Regions from separate parts of the Homo sapiens genome. Here region 1 is linked to region 2. Evidence: promoter capture Hi-C in human tissues and cell types (Jung and others, 2019). All regions are on one chromosome and are shown on one strand. The core of a region is centred on a gene start or on the middle of the fragment in contact, and the rest is flanking DNA. Distances in the headings are between cores, read along the strand shown. Region 1 has its middle 42 kb from the start of PAX7. Region 2 holds the start of ALDH4A1 (aldehyde dehydrogenase 4 family member A1).

Region 1 (3,777 bases), core at 1,125-3,624, 310 kb before region 2:
TGCCTTTTGAAGTGTGGGCATTTCCCTAAAGCTGGCCACCCACCTGATCCCAAGAATGCAGCCAGCAGTTCCTGGGCTATAGGTGTCCTCATTTATACCCTGCAGAAATGAGAAGACATCTTTGTCTTTGCATCCCCAGAACAAGTGGTTGAACTGTTAGCAACCTCTAATGGGCACCGCCATTACCCAGACAGGTATGGACATGAAGTGCCTGTATCCCATGGGGACTAAAAGGCGGATTCTGAGAATGGGGATGAGGGCAGGGAAAGGAGGTGGAGATGCCCAAGAAATGAAGGAATGAGAGAGGACATCAGAAGCTGGATCTCTGGTTAATTCATGAAGCCTCTTTGGAATGGATGAGGATTTCCAGCTGGTGGGAAGGAGGCTAACTGAGACAGAAAAAAACCACTCTCAAGGCTTAGCGTTTTAAATGTGTCACAGAGGGTGTGTTCAGGAACAGAGACAAGTATATAAGGCATAACGTACATCCTTGGGCAGTTTTATTTTAAATTTCATTTTGTTGCATTTTAATTTTTGAATAGCTAATGTATTCACGTGCTTCAAAAACCAAAAGACATCAAAATATATGAAGTAAAAATCCTCCTTCCACCTCTGTCCCTCATCTGCCCAGTTCTCAGCATTGACCCCACAGGTGACCGCTGTTCATGCTTTCTTCTGTATCTTCCCAGCATTTTTTTCTGCATCTCCATGCAAATAAGAATATAGAGTCTCGGTTGTCCCTCTATTGATACAAAATGTAAAACACTGAACACACTGTCTCTCTCCTTCTAATTTTTTCTCTTAACCATGGTATTCTGTGGTCTAGACAGACCATAATTGAATTAACTAGCCCCTTATTGCAGGGCATGGGCTGTTTTTAGCCATTTGCTAAACATTGTTGTGATGAACAGCCTTATATACAGTTGTCATTTCACACGTGCAAGTATCTCTATAGGATAAATTCCCACAGGGGAGTCGCTCGGTCAGAGACAACATGCGTTTGAAACTTTGATTGATAGTGCCAAGGTGCCCTTAGACATTGTCCCCGCGGTGACATAGGAGAATGTCTACTTCTCCCTCACACTCACCAACAGAAGGCGTCATTTTACATTTGGATGATTGGCAGTTTGATCAGGGAACGTGACATGTGTCTGTAGCTTTAATGGGCATTGATCTTACTATGGGTGAGCTGAACTTCTTTTCCTATCTTCAAGCACTTTTGGATTTTCTTTTCTCTAAATTATCTCTTCACAGCTTTTGCCCATTTTTATTTTGGGTCGTTTGACTTTCTCATCAATTTCCCTAGGTTCTTCAGGAGGGAGATTAACCCTTTACCTCTGATATGAGTTACAAACATTTTGTCCCAGATTGTCATTTTTTTTTTGACTTTGCTCATGATGGGATTTTTTTTTTTAACAAGCAGATTTTTTTTTATTTTTTTATCTATTTATTTTTTATTTTTTTATTTTTGAGACGAAGTCTAGCTCTGTCGCCCAGGCTGGAGTGCAGTGGCGCGCCTCAGCTCACTGCAACCTCCGCTTCCTGGGTTCAAGCAATTCTCCTGCTTCAGCCTCCCTAGTAGCTGGGACTACAGGCCTGCACCACCATGCCCAGCCACTTTTGTATTTTTAGTAGAGACAGGGTTTCGCCATGTTGGCCAGGCTGGTCTCGAACTCCTGACCTCAGGTGATCTGCCTGCCTCAGGCTCCCAAAGTGCTGGGATTACAGGTGTGAGCCACTGCGCCCAGCCAATTTTTATAGAAGTAAATTGATCAGCCAACCATGGTGGTGCGTACCTGTAGTCCCAGCTACTTGGAAGGCTGAGGTGGGAGGATCGCTTGAGGCCAGGAGTTCAAGACCAGCCTGGGCAACCTAGGACTGCCCCATCTCTACAATAAATGAATAAATGAATAAATAAAAATTAGCCAGGCATGGTGGCACATGCCTGTAGTCCCAGCTACAAGGGAGGCTGAGGCGGGAGGATCGCTTGAGGCCAGGAGTTCAAGACCAATCTTGGCAGCATAATGAAGCCGTGTCTTTAAAGAAAAATAAAAAATAAGTAAATTATCCATTTTTAATAGCTTCTAGATTTCTGAGTCATAATTAGAAAGTCCCTCATTTAAAAGTCATAAAGAAACTCTCTGATGTTTCCTTCTAAAATGTTTAAGCTTCATTTTCACACTTAAATTTTTGATTCCTTCAACATTTATTTTAAATATAAAGTAGAAATCCAGATTTTTTTTCCAGGTGTCTTTCCAGTTGTCCAACACCGTTTATTAAATAATTCAGCTTTTCTTTGCTGGTTTGGTATGGTAACCTTACTAACTGTCCATTTAATGTAGGCCTATTTCTGAGTTTTCTTTTATTTTATTGTCTGCTTGACTATTCACGGGTCAAAACCACATTGTTTTAATGATTGAGGCTTCATAATATGGGTTGGTCCTTCCCCCGAGCACCCTCTTTTTCCAGAATTTTCCTGTCTATGCCTACTGGTTAATTTTTCATACGAACTTTAGGATAAGCATGCCTCATTCAACAAAAACTGTGGATATTTTTTATCAGAATCAAAGTATATTTATCAATTAGCTGAGAGAGAATTAAAATGTCACGGTGTTGAGCCCCGCCGCTCCCCCCCTCCGCCACAATACGATGTATCTTTCCACTTGTTCACATTCTTCTGCCTTTTAGTAATTTTGTTAATTAAAATGCTTATTGAAATAGAACATGTATACAGGAAAGTCACAAATCATAAAGGAACAGCACTGTGAATTTTCACAAAGCAAGCACCCCCGTGAAATAGCTACTCAGATTGAGAACCGGAACGTGACCAGCTCCCCAGAGCCCTCCTCCTTCTCCTCCTGGTGATCATACCTCTCCTCCCAAAAGGAAACACCTTTCCCATTTCTATTAGGTTGGCGCAAAAGTAATCGCGGTTTTTGCCATTAAAAGTAATTTGCCATTAAAAGTAATGTCATTACTTTTAATGGCAAAAACCGCGATTACTTTTGCATCAAACTAATATCCTGTATTGTCTGTTTTTATTTATTTGTTTGTTTTTATATAACTTTAAGTTTTAGGGTACATGTGCACAACCTGCAGGTTTGTTACATATGTATACATGTGCCATGTTGGTGTGCTGCACCCATTAACTCGTCATTTACATTAGGTATATCTCCTAATGCTATCCCTCCCCCCTCCCCCCTCCCCCCACCCCACGACAGGCCCGGGTGTGTGATGTTCCCCTTCCTGTGTCCAAGTGTTCTCATTGTTCAATTCCCACCTATGAGTGAGAACATGCAGTGCTTGGTTTTTTGTCCTTGCGATAGTTTGCTGAGAATGATGGTTTCCAGCTTCATCCATGTCCCTACAAAGGACATGAACTCATCCTTTCTTATGGCTGCATAGTATTCCATGGTGTATATATCCCACATTTTCTTAATCCAGTCTATCGTTGATGGACATTTGGGTTGGTTTCAAGTCTTTGCTATGGTGAATAGTGCTGCAATAAACATACGTGTGCATGTGTCTTTATAGCAGCATGATTTATAATCCTCTGGGTATATACCCAGTAATGGGATGGCTGGGTCAAATGGTATTTCTAGTTCTAGATCCTTGAGGAATCTCCACACTGTCTTCCACAATGGTTGAACTAGTTTACAGTCCCACCAACAGTGAAAAAGTGTTCCTATTTCTCCACATCCTCTCCAGCATCTGTTGTTTCCTGACTTTTTAATGATCGCCATTCTAACTAGTGTGAGATGGCATCTCATTGTGGTT
Region 2 (3,716 bases), core at 506-3,005:
CAAATGTAATTTCAGTCATATATCTCTGATGGCAGATCGTTTCCCATGATAATACAGGAATGAGACAGTACTTACCGGCTCGGTGTTAGGCCCATGGTGCTTGATTGCTTGATAATCATTATTGTTATCATGGGCTTATCTTTTAGAATATGGATTGCTTTCTACTAGATATTGGAGGGTTTTCCTATGCATTTCTCCCCTATTAAGCCGAAAACTCCTCAAAGGCCCCACCCCATGTAAATTCCCTGGGTACCCCTCATCTCTAGGGTGTTTGGCAGAGCACCAGCTCACAGTAGGCACTCAGTAAACACAGGACTCTATAAGCTCCATCTTCCTGAGTCTCAGAGTGCAGGGAAGGCCTGCAAACGGGATCACACAGGGAGTATGGCAAGTGTGGCCCCAGTCTCAGCCTAGAAGAGGAACCCCTCTGTCCCATGTCCTCTTCCTGCGCCCTTTCCTATCCCCTCTTCACCCACAGAGGACACACAGCAGTGTTGCAACTCACTTGTGCTCAGAGCACCACCATGCCATCCCTTGGGGGAAGGGAGAGGGCCACTGATTAACTCAGAAAGGGCACAGCTCATCAGGAAAGACACTGCCACTAACAGCCCCAGGGGTCAAGCAAACAAACCTCAAATGGGAGGGGGGGCTGATCCACAGGTGGGCAGCCCCACCAGACTAGGAACCCCTCTGGGGCAGGGTCTGTGTCCCACCTACCTCTCCAAACCTAGCTCCGAGCTGGAGGGGCTCTGAGAATATTTGTCATTGAGTGGGCAAGGGTCCAGGCACCTGGCTCCACAATGTCAGGTTTGCAAATCGGGATTTGAAGGGCAGGTCCACCCCTGAACTGCTCCTGGGTTTCTTCATTATTTGGAATAATGACCTGCCTCACAGGAGTGAGAAGTTTAAATAGAGGTGATAATGATGATGATCGTGGCAATAATAATAACCGGGCGCTGCCTTTGTGCTGGGCACTGTTCAGTGCACTCCCCATGTATTAACTCATTTAATCCTCATAAGACACCTGCCAATTGCCCGGCCAGCATTTGGTTCATTATAAGCACTCTATAAATATGATTATTCCACCTACAAGAAGAAAGGAATCCTTTTTTCTGTCCAACATTTAACTTGAAAAAAAAAAAAAAAAACGGGCGGCGGGGTGTGTGGGGAGCGGAAAAGAGAGAGGTAGAAATCCTGGTAGAAGGAGAGGACTCGGGGAATCCGGGGCGGGATGGGGACACTGAACGTGAGACGAGGGTGGGGAAGTGAGATGTGTGGTGTGCTAAAAATAGAAGGGCCCCTCAGGGGAAGCCAGCAAATTGCGAAGATCCAGTATTAGGAGTGAGGTGAGTGACTACAGAGGCTACTTTCCGAGCGTGGGAACCGGCAGGGCCACCGAGGCACCCTACTCGGTCGCAGGATTCGGGAAGAGGGGTCCCCTCGCTAAAGGAAGGTGACTACCTGAGGGAGGAGGCTAAGGGATCTCAGTGGGAGAAAGGCCTGGGTGGGGGTCGGAGGGGAGCCCCTGAGGAACCCGGCGTTGACCGAGGCAGCTTGGGGGTCCGGCAGGGAGGGAGTGCGGCGCGGGGGACGCCCAGTGACTCTCAGGCTCCCGGGCCCCAGGCGCGCGCTCGGGCCGCCCCGGGCCCCGTGCTCACTCACCCGGCCCCGGTCCAGGGGCGGGACAGCAGGGCGCGGCGGAGCGCGGGCGCCGGCAGCAGCATCTCGGGTTAGAAGCGGGGCTGTTCGCTGGATCGTCCGCCCGGGCGCGGCGAGAATGCACAACCCCGTCCAGAGCGCACCACCTCGATCCTCGGGGGGAAACGGATCACCCCGGCTGTCCTCCGAGCTCGGGATCAGCCAAAGTCCCACTATATTTAGCTTCGGCTAATAAAAAATATTTCTAGTGCCATAACGGGGGCATTACACAACACAGGACAAGGGAACCCGAAAGCGAAGTCCTGAAATGCATGCGTTTTCCCCTCCTCTCTTTATGGTATGACCCGGGAGAGAGGGCGTGAACTCTGTCGACCAGTCAGAGTGACACACCAAAGCTTCTGAACCAATCAGCGGGGCGGTCCTGCGGCAGCCTTCCAAAGCGGAGCAGAGAGGGGCTGAATAGAGCCAATGAGATAACCGAAATGGGACACGTGCTGAAGCGGGGCAGAAGGACTCGCTGCGTCCGGCCCTCTGGCGTGCGCCCCGGGTTCGATGGGAGTCCGACTGACTTCTCTCGGGCTGCCGGTGGCTTGTACAAGGCTGGAAACCTGTCCGCTACCAGACTCCTCGACCCCGCAGGGCCACAGCGCGGCCAGCCCCCTGCTTCTTCCCGGGGGCTGCGGCCCCTGGAATGAGCCTGCCTTCCAGCTTCTTGGCCAGGACCCAGCCGCTCTCCACCTACCCTCCAGGCGCGGGGCCGGCCAGCTTCTTAGCTTCCTTGCAGATTACGATCAATGCAAGATAAAACCTGAGCTGGCCAACGCTTAGCTTTTCATTTAAAGCCTTTGGCCGCAAAACCAGTTGTTCCTGAGCCTTTTACCCCCAAGTAAAAATTTCAGCTTTCTTTGCAAAATGTTGTGTGCTTGGTAAACACTAGAATGCTATTTAAAACTTGGATTCTGAAGTCTTCTCTGATGACGAGGTCTCAGGGACCCAATCTATTCCTAAAGTAATGTTACGTTTCCTTACTCTCTGTTCTAATTTGTTTATATTTCTTCCAGCAGCATGAACCGCGCACCTGCTTAGGAGTCAGTTCCCATGCTGATTTTGGTTCCTCAAGCAGGGCACTAGGCAGACTACATATCCTTTCCGGGCCTCAGTTTCCTCATCTGTAAAACGGAAGTAATAGTACCCAACTCACAAAGCCCCCGTGATCTTAAGCCACTTATTTTTCTCCAGATTACACCATTTGAGGTACTTTGGGAGAATGTAAACATTTAAATGAAGAGTAGGAGAGGGAGATTACCTAAATGCCAAGTATTAGGAATGGCAAAAAGCAAATTGGAATTGGTGGCGGCTATTTGTCTTCACCTTTGGAGAAAACCCTAGACAGGTGGGCTCAGTTCACATTTGGGCAATGTTGCCCTGAACATGCCCATTGACAAGAAAAACTAGAACATTGGTTACTGTCAAATCCAGAGCCTGGGAAGGTGACCTCCTGTGGGCACGTTGGAGAGCCTGGAAAAATGGGGGCTTTGTGGTTAAAAGGACATCAGTTCCAAACCAGGCCAAGCCAGTTACTGAGCCTGTGATGTCTCATGTCCTCTCTTCCCCTTCAGTAAAATGTGTGTAATGATTCCTGCTTTGTCATCTTCCAAAGCTTTTATTGTGAGCTACAAATGTAACAGGTGATATGAAATCCCCTATTTTATGGCTAATTAACTAATGAGTTTGAGGGTTTCTGTGGCCTTCCGTCCTCCTACCCCTCCCCCAACACCAGATTCATCTTCTGTTTAAAAACAAAAACAAAAAAAAGCACCATCAGTTCTAAGACATTTCACTTTATTTAAAAGAAGCCAATATACAGGATATAAAGGGCATGATATTTACAACAGTACAGTAAACAGGTTGGTTTCCGGTAGGATCAGTAGTCTTTCCATGAGTATAAATCCCCCCCTTCCCTGTGATGCTAGACCCAGCTGGCAGACAACAGCAACGGTGGGGCAGGATCATGGGGTATAAAGTCTCCCTGGGTGGGGCTAAAAATCAGGTAGATG

Evidence for each region. Contacts are between HindIII fragments. The study calls those that stand out against the background at their distance.
Region 1: a fragment that was not itself captured here is called in contact with the fragment with the promoter of ALDH4A1 in region 2 in 2 of the 25 tissues and cell types used here (adrenal gland and mesendoderm cells).

The regions. Positions count from the first base shown.
Region 1 is chr1:18,587,187-18,590,963 of GRCh38, forward strand. No RefSeq gene overlaps it. Among named protein-coding and RNA genes, the nearest start is that of PAX7, 42 kb to the right of the region's middle. The HindIII fragment of the contact is 9,422 bases long and covers 1-3,777 here.
Region 2 is chr1:18,900,800-18,904,515 of GRCh38, forward strand. It overlaps ALDH4A1 (aldehyde dehydrogenase 4 family member A1), which reads right to left and starts at 1,756. Exons shown (of 15, transcript NM_003748.4): 1 at 1,663-1,756. The coding sequence starts at 1,724. LOC124903866 (a long non-coding RNA gene) reads left to right here and starts at 1,314. Exons shown (of 2, transcript XR_007065519.1): 1 at 1,314-1,453; 2 at 2,011-2,572. It overlaps IFFO2 (intermediate filament family orphan 2), which reads right to left. Exons shown (of 9, transcript NM_001136265.2): 9 at 3,481-3,716. RefSeq lists a silencer at 1,523-1,742 and enhancers at 1,823-2,052, 1,992-2,809. The HindIII fragment of the contact is 12,356 bases long and covers 1-2,686 here.